Linked DNA regions of Homo sapiens: region 1 is linked to region 2. Evidence: promoter capture Hi-C in 16 types of primary human blood cells and fetal thymus (Javierre and others, 2016). All regions are on one chromosome and are shown on one strand. Each heading gives the region's core, a stretch centred on a gene start or on the middle of the fragment in contact. The rest is flanking DNA. Distances are from core to core; before and after follow the strand shown.

Evidence for each region. Contacts are between HindIII fragments. The CHiCAGO score rates a contact against its expected background, and 5 or more counts as called.
Region 1: a fragment that was not itself captured here is called in contact with the fragment with the promoter of LAMA3 in region 2 in 1 of 17 cell types (M1 macrophages); the score reaches 5.3 in M1 macrophages.

What each region holds. Positions count from the first base shown.
Region 1 is chr18:23,921,740-23,927,570 of GRCh38, reverse strand. All of the region lies in intron 62 of LAMA3 (laminin subunit alpha 3), which reads right to left. Among named protein-coding and RNA genes, the nearest start is that of LINC02958, 58 kb to the left of the region's middle. The HindIII fragment of the contact is 3,473 bases long and covers 1,973-5,445 here.
Region 2 is chr18:23,685,784-23,691,865 of GRCh38, reverse strand. It overlaps LAMA3 (laminin subunit alpha 3), which reads right to left and starts at 2,413. Exons shown (of 75, transcript NM_198129.4): 1 at 1,889-2,413. The coding sequence starts at 2,182. RefSeq lists an enhancer at 2,505-3,054. The HindIII fragment of the contact is 9,125 bases long and covers 1-6,077 here.

The sequences.
Region 1 (5,831 bases), core at 2,460-4,959, 230 kb before region 2:
AAGCTGAAACAATGGAACACATTGTCTGGGTTCATATGCTGCTGTATCTACCACCTCCTACCTGTGGGCAAAGGGTTATTGCCAGGATTTAAAAAATTAACGGGCCGGGTGGGGTGGCTCATGCCTGTAATCCCAGCACTTTGGGAGGCCAAGTCAGGTGGATCACTTGAGGTCAGGTGTTCGAGATCAGGCTGGTCAACATTGTGAAAACTTAACTCTACTAAAAATACAAAAATTAGCTGGACGTGGTGGCAGGCACCTGTAGTCCCAGCTACCCGGGAGCTGAGGTTGGAGAATCATCTGAACCCGGGAGGCGGAGGTTGCAGTGAGCTGAGATCGTGCCACTGTACTCCAGCCTGGCAACAAAGCGAGACTCTGCCTCAAAAAACAAAAACAAAACCAAAAAAACAAGTTAACGTACAGCAAGAGCTTGCAGCAGTGCATGGCACCTGGACGTGAATGCTCAGCAGGTGTTTCTGAGAGGCAAAATTGTGCTGCTCTGGACCAGCCAAATTGCCTGGGTTCAAGTTCTGTCCCTTCTGATTGAACAGGCAACTTTTCTCCGTGCCTGTTTCCTCATTTAGACAATGGGAATATGTGAATCTGTTTCATAGGGCTGTCATAGTCTAAGAAAGTTAATATGTGTAACACACTCAAACAGTGTTTTGTACAGAGTAAGGACTCAATGTGAGATCGTCAAGTTAGTAACTACTCCCATATTACTGCTCTTATATAATGAGAGCAATTTCTAAAGCAGCTCTTTCTACATGGCCCCAGGGCATTTCCCCTTCGATTTGACTTCTGGATCTGTCTGGAGCTGAATGCACATAAAGCATTCACACACATGAACTAACTGAAGTCCAGGCAAATATTTGTGTTTCTTAAACAAATGATGTACTAAGAAAACCCAAAGCTGATTTCATTCTAAATCCCTAATGCAGCTTACTTTTCTAAATGGAAAGGTGTCTGCATTCATTTTAATCCAATTCATTAGAAACAGTTGAGCTACCTGTAATAGACCTAAAATTAAATTTCATTAAAAGGAAAAGAAAGAAACAAATCCTCACTGGCATTACAGTATAAGCCTAATTATTTTATAAAGATGGCCTTTTGCCTCAGAAGAGGAGGAGGGTTCATTTCCATTCCTGGAGCTTGCCTATTTATACATGGTTTTAGGTCAATTCTTCTTTGGGTTTCAACATATCTCTTGGACAACGACATTCCAGATGTCCCTCTCTCCATAGATTATTGGTCAAAGAAAGAAGGTTGCAGAAAAGGAAAATAGTAGGAGAGAAAGGCAGTTAACAGATACAGACCACCTATTTTGCACGAAGCTCTATGAATCCAACTTACAATAAGCTTTTGAGGGAGGTATTTTCTCTTTTATATTATTTTATTTTATTTTAAGTTCTAGGATACATGTGCAGGAAGGGCAGGTTTTCTTATCTAACATTTATTGAGCACTGACCATGTGCTGACCTCTGCTAATTCCTTTACACACTCTGAATCTTCCAACCACCCTAAGAGATAGGCAGCTACTATGCCCATACTATAGATGTAGCAATGAGGCATTAAGAGGTTAAGGCCTTGCCTAAGGTCACACAGCTGGTAAGTGGTAGAGCTGGGGTCTGTACTGTCAGTGTGTCACACAGGTTAGTGAGGCTTGAAGCCCTTGCTTTTTACACTTACAGTTGGTATTCCTGCAGCACTTGGAAGTGATCATGCCTTTTTCTAGAAGAGTTACCTACAGCAGAAGTGTTAAAATGGAAGAGATTTACTTCCACTATTCCTGGGGGGATTCTTGTTACCTTGGCTTACCTGAGGACCTACAGTTCTACATTTACTCCAGGATACAGGGTCTGAACATACTTGCTAGAGGAATGTGATTGCACTGGGGCATGAGTTGTTGTGTTGGTGGGTTCCTGCGTTGGGGTATTTATGTATACTTTGGGCCAATCTGTCCACAAAAGCTTAGCCAGCTCCATGGCTGTTGCAGGCCGACTTCAGAGAGCAAAAAGAACAAAAGGCAGCCCTAATCTTGGTGTTGGGTACTTAGTCGATGTTCAATAGATCTACTTTTTGGATCATTTTCATTTTAGTGTGTATAATCACACTCTGTAAACAATGGTGTAGGTCCTCAAGAAAAATGCCCTTGTTGGTGTCACACCCTCTGGCATTACCAGGGATGATTTGCTCTTCTCCTGGGTAGGAGATGGGATTAACAGAATGATTTCTGATTATAATCGGAAACAAGCCATTCCAAGATCTGGGTCCCCATTCCCAGAAGAAACACTACAGTGAGAGGGGGAAGAAACAAAACGTGCACAAAATCCCTTGAGCAAAGCTGATTTAGTGATTACACTTGCTTGCCTTGCTCCAGGTTAGGTTTGAGAACTTTGTCTAAAAGGTCCCTCCATTTATGCCAGGGACCAGAACACCTCCCTGCTCTGGAAGCGTTGGCTGGTTGCCCCTACAGAGCTTGGCTGTGGATTATCCATGGAACTCCTCTGTGCCCACCCCACCTCCCAGTGACTCATGCCCAATGGCAGTTTCAGGAATCTCTGGGCCACCAAAGACTTCACCACAGGGATGAGGCAACACCCAGAACAGCTGACTATTCCTTAGAATTTTGCTTTAGAGGGAGTGAAGGGCCAGTGAAATCTTTTGACTGGCCTCTATCTCCTGCATTTTCCATGTTCCAGTGATTTTAATAAAAAGTCAAAATATAGGCTGTGCATGGTGGCTTATGCCTGTAATCCTAACACTTTGGGAGGCAGAGGCAGGTGGATCACCTGAGGTCAGGAGTTCGAGACCAGCCAGACCAACATGGCAAAACCCCGTCTCTACTAAAAACACAAAATTAGCCGGGCATGGTGGCAGGCACTGTAATCCCAGCTACTCGGGAGGCTGAGGCAGGAGAATTGCTTGAACCCGGGAGGTGGAGGTTGCAGTAAGCCGAGATTATGCCATTGCATTCCAGCCTGGGCAACAAGAGCAACACCTCGTCTCAAAAAAAAAAAAAAAAAAGAAAAAAAAAGGTCAAAGTATAAAACTTGCCCAGAAAAAGGAAGCAGTCCCTTGTTTGGAGGATCCCAAAATAAGTTACTAAGAAAATTCTAGGCCAGGCATGGTGGCTCATGCCTGTAATCACAGCATTTTGGGAGGCCAAGGTGGGTGGACTACCTGAGCTCAGGAGTTCAAGACCAGCCTGGACAACATGGGGAACCCCGTCTCTGCTAAAAATACAAAAAATTAGCCAGGCATGGTGACACATGCCTGTAATCCCAGCTACTCAGGAGGCCAAGGTAGGAGAATCACTTGAGCCCAGGAGGCAGAGGTTGCAATGAGCCAAGATGGCGCCACTGAACTCCAGCCTGGGTGACAGAGCAAGACTCTTGTCTCAAAAAAAGAAAGAAAATTCTGGACTGGGCACAGTGGCTCACGCCTGTAACCCCAGAATTCTGGGGGTGGGAGGATCACTTGAGGCTAGAAGTTCGAGACCAGCCTGGGCAACACAGCAAGACCCCATCTCTACAAAAAATTGTTTTAAAAAAGCAAATTCTCTATGTATATGCATCTCTATATCTATATATTTCTTTAATGGATGGAGATGAAAAGGCAAATAAAGGTTGAGTGCTGAATTAACCTAAAGTTTTGCTGAGCCAAAACTAAAGCCACCTCTTTTGTGGTTCTACCTACTGCTCTTTTCTAGAAAACCTGGACTGACTGGCATCCACATCACTGTCTAGGGGCCTTGTGTTAATATCATGCAAACACAAACCACCACCAATGGGTTCCTTATTGCCTCAACTTGAGAATTCCTCCTGGCTCTGGGTAAGCCCACTGGCCTCTACCACCTCAATGACTACCTGGCCCTGAGCTTCATTTACCCTTCTCCAGACTGGCCTCCTTTCTGGAGGCCCAGGCCATTTTGTGCGCCTGCTTGTGGGCCTCTCCACCTGGCTGTGTCTCAGGCTCCTGGACTAAGCCTGTCTCAGACTTAACTTCTCACCCCACTCCTCCGTTGGTGTGTTCCATCTGCCAAGGGCTTAGCCAAAAACCAGGCATCATTCTTGACTGCTTTTCCCCTTTATTCCCCAACCCAAGCCATTGTGCAGTGCTGCCCATTCACCATCCTAAATATATTTGGAATCTGATCCCTGTTGCTCACCTGCATAACCACTCCTTGGGCCAGGTCACCCTCATCACTCACCTCTGTTAATATACTCGGCCTCCAGCCACTCTACCTGCCTCTGCCCTTTTCTTCTCTAATCCAGTCTCTGCCCTGCACTAGAGTGAGCTACTGAAAACCCAAATTTGGTCATGGCCTTTCTCTGCTGAAGTCCCTCCAATGGCTCCTTACTGTGACTTTCAAGGTACTCTGTGGTCAGGCCCCTGCTGCCCACATCAGCCCCATGGGGCATCCCTATCCCACTTCCTGCTGTACTCTAGCTCTTTGCAAGTTCATGCTTTCTCTATCCAGCTTTGGTGCTTCACATACACTGACTGCTAGCATCTCTCAGGTCCCAGCTGGAGGTCACTTTCCTGATGGCCCCAGTTGGATTAGGTTCCCTCCTGGGCTCTGTCAGCACCCTGAGCTTCCTCCTATGGCACACGTCATGTTCTCCTGTAGTGACTGTCTCTCTTCTGTTCTTCTCCAGGCTCCACCCTGCTCATTGTTGCCTTCTTGGCACCTGTCACTCTGCCTGATGCCCATTAGGCACTCAATAAATCCTGTGTAATGAATGAATAAGTGGCAACTCTCAAACATACTCAAAAGTACTCGAAAAAACTACCTTAAACGATTTTATTTTATTCCATTTCATGGAAATAAAATCAATCTTACTGACAATTCATAACTGGCTATTCATGGCTGAATTGCTATTTGATATTGATAATATTAAATATTAATATAATCTCACTGGCTCTGAATTTCTTCATTTGTAAAACTCAGGGGCTACATACCATGATCTGCAAGGCTCCTTCCAGAGCCCAGGGAGTAAAGATGTCACCCCCAGGTTCTGTTGAAGTGCCCAGCTTTCCCATTTGCATTTTTGCCTTTGGAGGCAACCCTGACAACTTTAAAACAAAGATTAGTACCTGACTACGTAGAATGGACAGACGCCCACATGTATAAGGACTCTAGAAGAAAGAATACCTTGGCATGACACCTTATAAATCATATTCTAGTTCCTTCCAACTGATGTATAAGTTAGCAAAAGAGTTAACTAGCTTCAGATCTCATATAAAAGTCATCATAACCTAACCTTCTGGGAGCACTCTTACTTAGTCATGAGGCTGCACTAATCCTTCCAGGATATGTTCTGTCCACACACTATCGTCAGCTATCTAAAAGCCTTCCGGGAGGATACAAATGATCAAAATGTAAAAGTTATTTTTACGTGCATTCCAAAATGGTGGGATTTTTCCCATTCAGATAAAGCTTTACTGCCTTTCACATTAATTAATTCATGTGTTCACTCATCCAAGAAACAGTTACGTAACAATTCCACGCTCGATAGCATGTAAGGAGCAGCTGATGCCGAAGTGAAGGAGACATACTGTTTCACATTCTTCCAGAGGCTCCCTGAAGGTGGCAACCTCAGCTTTCAGTTCCCCAGGGATGTCTGTCAGGCCTTGGGAGGCCCACGCTCTCCTATGCAGCCTTCAAGGGCCCAGGGCCACAGCCTCTGTTCTACTTGCTGCCAGCATTGTTAACCCAACTATACCCTTCGTGGTCCCTCCCCTCCCGAGAATGACAATGGCGGTGACACACATTCCCCCACCCTCCTTCTTTCCACTGCCCAGTCTCATTATTCGGGATTTAAATC
Region 2 (6,082 bases), core at 1,164-3,663:
GTGCAGTGGCTCATGCCTGTAATCCCAGCACTTTGGGAGGCCAAGGTGGGCAGATCGCTTGAGCCCAGGGGTTCAAGACCAGTCTGGCCAACATGGCAAAACCTTGTCTCTACAAAAGATACAAAAATTAGCCACGCATGGTGGCATGTGCCTATAGTCCCAGCTACTTGGCAGGCTGAAGTGGGAGGATTACCTGGGCCTGGGAGGTGGAGGTTGCAGTGAGCCAAGATAGCACCACTGCACTCCAGCCTGGGTAATAGAGTGAGACCCTGTCTCAAAAATAAAATTAAATTAAAAACTGAATTGTTATAAGAGCTAAACTAAATTTCTCAAAAATAATTATACACACAATTATATTTGCATATTTGTGTGTTTATAAACACACAATCATAAAATAGAGAAAGCAAAATTATTTGAGGACTGTTAAAAGTATTTTCATCATTGTTATTTTATATTTTTAGTTTCTTTTCTTGCATGTTTTATAATATAGATAATATATAAATATGGTAAAAATATTTTCATCATTGTTATTTTGTCTTTTAGATTTCTGTTTTTGCATGTTTTAAAATATGCACAACACATATCAATATAATACATGCATGTAGTTTATAAGTAAATAAGCACATATGGCACTAGATGTTCAACAACTTGTCATTTATGGAAGTGCATGGTCAAAAGAGTTTCTAAAACACTAATCTAGACACCCAATGATAACCTTGCTCTTTTAGAACCCAAGCTCCAAAATCGCTCCCTCTTCCCACTTCCTGTTCCTCAACAATACTTTGCAGAAGAAGGAGGCAATTTGGGCTTAGTGTCCAGGATTTGAAGTCAGGACTGGATTCAAATTCTCCTGCCCCTTTGGGAGGTCAAGACAGAAGGACAGCTTGAGGCTAAGAGTTTGAGACCAGCTTGGGCAAAATAGCCAGACTCTGTCTCTACAGAAAAATAAATAAATAAATAAATAAATAAATAAATAAATAAATAAATAAATAATTGCCAGGCCTGAGGTTGCAGTGAGCCGAGATCGCACCATTGCATTTCAGCCCCGGCGACAGTGCGAGACTCTGTCTCAAAAAAAAAAAAAAAAAATTGCCAGGCACGGGGGGGCACGCCTGTAGTCCCAGCTACGCCCAAGGCTGAGGCGGGAGGATCCCTTGAGCCCAGGAGTTCGAGGCTGCCGTGAGCCGTGATCGCACCACTGCACTCTTGCCTGGCTGAGACCTGTGAGTAAGGGCCAGGCACTGCAAGATGCTGCTTAACATGCACCGCAATGTCGTTTGCCCCGGGTGTTCGCGGTGAGGCTCGGATCTCTGAGAGCCTTTCTATCTCTGTCCGCCTAAGGTCTCATTCGCCCCCAATGACTGGATGGTGGCACTTCAGGCAGTGCAGTGAAGTGAATCTTTTCAGTAACATTAGAGTGATACCGCTGTTATAACCTAAAAATTCTCTCTTAAAATACACCACAGAAGGTAATTGCCACCGACTTCTCCGAATAAGGCCCGGGAGGTGGGGCAGGAGGCGCCCCTGAACCCTCGAGGACTCAAGCCTGGCGGGACGCTCCGTGGGTGACGGAGGCGGGAAGGGCCGAGGCGCCTGCATCTCTTAGAGCGCAGCCTCACACTTTCCCCTCCACCAGCCCGAACCTGACCACAGCCTCATGTCACCTCGCGTGCTCCCCCTCCTCGCCTCGGGCCGGTGGTGCCGGTGCGGTGCTTCCACGAGATCGCTCCTGGGTCGTGGGCCCTCGCGCGCGGGGATGGGGGCTGCCCTTCCCAGTCGCCCGGAGCCACTAGCGCGCGTGAGGAAAGGGCCCGATCCCTTCTCCGGGTGTCTGGCCGGCGCGGGAAGGAAAAGGCGCGCCCACCCCGGCTCTCTCCGAGGCCCTCACCTGGATGGTGTGGCCGCTGCCTGGGGCGGTGGGGCCCCCGACCAACTTGCAGTAGAGCTCGGGCTGGGGCCTCCCCTCGCCGGGTCCCCTCTCCCCGCAGGTGGCGGTGGCCCAAATCCTCGCCGCCTCGGCCAGGTTGAAGTAAGTCGGGTGAAGGCTGAGCCCGGCCGCGGCCCCGGGATCCCGAGCGGTCGCCCCGCAGGCTGGCAGCACCCGCAGTACCAGCAGGAGCAGCGGCGTCGGCGGCAGTACTGGCCCCAGTGCCCGACCCCGAGGCCGCGCGGCCGCCGCCATCCAGCCGCGCGGGGTCCTCCCGCCTGAGCCGTCCGCAGAGGGGCTCGGGGGCACCGCCGCTCTCCGCCTGCGCCTCCCGGACCTGCAGCGCCAGGACTAGCGCAGCCGGGGATATGGGCGGCGCCGGGGCCGCTCCCCTTGCTCCACGCGCTGGAAGCCCGCGGCGTGGGGGTGGCCTCTCAGCTCTGGAACCTGCCGCGGCTGGAGCGGGCACCAGCCGGATCAGGAACTGACAGCGCTCAGCCGCGCGCCAGCAGACGGCGTCTCTCCCGCGCGAGGCGCGCTGCAAACTTCGCGGGCGGGGAATGGGAGAGGCGTTCCCGGGCTCCCACCCAGGCGGCGGGAACGGGAGCCTGGGATCTTCGAACCCTCCAGGCGCCAGGACAGAAATTAATTAGATCGTTCTCCTCTCTGGATACTCACCGCTCAGGTCAAAGCCAGAAAAGCCACCTGTGACCTAAGAGTAAAGGAGGCTTGTAAACGAATTTGGTTGAGAGCAGAGGAAACTGCCACTACCTACAGAACTCACATCAAAGACATTTCGATTTCCCAGCCAAGTGTTGAGTCGTCAACTCCTCAACACTGTGCACCTAGGATCCCTGTGGCACTGCAGCCACAGGCTGAGCCAGGGAACTGGGAGTGGTGGAACGTACATATTTAAAAGACAGCCAATAATGCAAGTTGTAATTTGCCAACCTGGAAAGGAACCTTAGAGGAAATCCTTTAGATGCCTAATCTGCTCAATTTTACAAATAAGCTAACAGAGATTGAGTGAGGTACGCCACCTGCCATGATGGCCTCAGAACAGAGAAGACCCCCTCCCCCCACGACCCCGGACTGATGCTTGGTCTTATATGCAGAACACCCTACTAAAACAGAACCCACATAGGCCCTCGAAGAAATTAGAGGAATGCAATATTTGTACAATAAAAATTGCAAAACCTCTTTGAAAGAAATGTTAAAAGACCTAAATGAGTGGAAAAGCCTCCCATGTTCATGGATTAGGAGACAATATTGTGAAGATGGCAATATTTCCTAAAGCAACCTACAATTCAACACAATGGATTTTGATAGGGATCAAAATCCCGACTTTTTTTTTTTTCAGAAATTGACAAGCTGATCCTAAAATTCATGTGGAAATGCAAGAGACCTAGAAAATCCAAAACGATTCTGAGAAAGAATGAAGTCAGTGGACTCACGCTTCCTAGTTTTAAAACTTAATACAAAACTACAGTAATCAAGACAGTGTAGTACCGACATAACGATAAACATAGATCAATGGAATAGAATTGAGAGCTCAGAAATAAACCGTTACATTTATGGTCACTGGATTTTCAACAGGGTGCCAAGACTATTCAATGGGAAAAGAATAATATTTTTAATAAACGCTGCTGGGAAAACTGGACATCCCAAAATAATCTAGTAGGATCCCCACCTCATACTATATGCAAAAATTAACTCAAAATGGATTTAAGATCTCTAAATTTTACATTTAGAGAGCTAAACTATAAAGCTAAAACTATAAAATTCTAAGGGAAAAACACAGGAGAAAATCTTCATGACTTTGGATTAGCAATGCTGTCTTAGCTATGATATCAAAAGCGCAAGCAACAAAAGAAAAATATAAATTGGGCCGGGCACGGTGGCTCATGCCTGTAATCCTAGTACTTTGGGAGGCCGAGGTGGGTGGATCACCTGAGGTCAGGAGTTCAAGACTAGCCTGGGGAAAATGGTGAAACCCTGTATCTACTAAAAATACAAAACTTAGCCAGGCATGGTGGCATGTGCCTGTAATCCCAGCTACTCCAGAGGCCAAGGCAGGAGAATCACTTGAACCCGGGAAGCGGAGGTTGCAGTGAGCCAAGATCATGGCACTACACTCCAACCTGGGCAACAGAGCAAAAATCTGTCTCAAAACACACACACACACACACACAAAGATAAATTGAAACTTACCAAATTTTAAAACTTTTGTGCTTCCAAGGCACCCTCAAGAAAGCGAAAGATGGCCAGGCACAGTGGCTCATGCCTGTAATCCCAGCACTTTGGGAGGCCAAGATGGGTTGATCGCCTGAGGTTAGGAGTTCAAGACCAGCCTGGCCAACATGATGAAATTTTCTACTAAAAATACAAAAATTAGCTGGGCATGGTGGTGCACACCTGAAATCCCAGCTACTAGGGAGGCCGAGGCAGGAGAATCACTTGAACCCAGGAGGCAGAAGTTGCAGTGAGCTGAGATTGTGCCACTGCACTCTAGCCTGGGAAACTGAGAATCCATCTCAAAAAAAAAAAAAAAAAGAAAGTAGAAGACAATCCGCAAGATAGAAGAAAATATTTGCAAACCATATATCTAATTAGAAATTCATATCCAGAATAAACTCTTACAACTCAACCATTTTTTAAAAAGTAGTGGGCAAATATAAAAATGGTCGATAAGCATGACCATGGAAGACGCTCAACATCATTAGCCATCAGGAAAATGCAAACCAAAACCACAATGAGATACTACTTCACACACACTGGGATAGTTATAATCAAAAAGATAGATAATAACAAGTATTTGTGAGGATGTGGAGAAGTTGGAACCCTCACAGATTACTGATGGGAATGTAAAATGGTGCAGACACTTTGGCAATTCCTCAAAAACTTAAACATAACATGACCATGTGATCTGGCAATTCCAATCCTAAGAACATACTCAAGAGAACTGAAAATATATATCCACACAAAAACTTGTACATAAATGTTTATAGCAGCGTTAGTCATATAATAAAAAAATGAATACAACCTAATGTTCCCCAACTGATGAATGGATAGACAAAATGTAGTATATCCATACAATGGAATATCTGTCACACATAAAAAGAAATGAAGTTCTGATCCATGCTTACAACATGGAAGAACCTTGAAAACGTTATGGTAGGTGAAAGAAGTCAGACAAAAAAGACCACATATTGTATGGGGAGTGACTGCTATTGGCTATGGGGTTTCTTTTTGGAGTGATAAAAATGTTCTGGAATTAGATAGTGGTGATGATAACCATCACGCTATGCATCACCACTATCACATCACCAATTGTGTGAATATACTAAAACCACTGAATGGTGCACTTTATGAATTTATGGTATATAAATTATATCTTAAAGCTGTTATTATGGATTTTTGCAGAACTGAAATATCTACTAAACATAAGAAATGTGGCCAGGTGTGGGGGCTTACGCCTGTAATCCCAACACTTTGGGAGGTGAGGCGGGTGAATCACCAGAGGTCAGGAGTTCGAGACCAGCCTGGCGAACATGGTGAAACCCTGTCTCTGCTAAAACTACAAAAATTAGTCGAGCATGGTGGCACATGACTGTAATCTCAGCTACTGGGGAGGCTGAGGCAGGAGAATCGCTTGAACCCGGGAGGCAGAGGTTGCAGTGAGCTGAGATCGCACCACTGCACTTCAGCCTGGGTGACAAGAGCGAAACTCCGTCTCAAAAAAAAAAAAAAGAACTGTATATGAATGTGTGTGTGTGTGTGTATGCGTGTGTGTGAAAGCAGACAAATAATTTTTTTTTTTTGAGACAAGGTATCACTCTGTTTCCCAGGCTGGAGTGCAGTGGCATAATCATGGCTCACAGCAGTGTCAACCTGTGGTGCTCAAGTGATCCTCTCACCTCAGCCTCCCAAGTAGCTGGGACTACAGGCATGTGCCACCATGCCTGGATAATTTTCTTTATTATTATTATTATTATTTTTTTTTTTTTTTTTTTTTGTAGAGATGGGATTTTGCCATGTTGCCCAGGCCAGTCTCAAACTCCTGAGGTCCAGCAATCCATCCATCTTGACCTCCCAAAATGCTGGGATTATAGGCATGAGCCACTGCGCCTGGCCAGAATTTTTGAAAGCTTTACA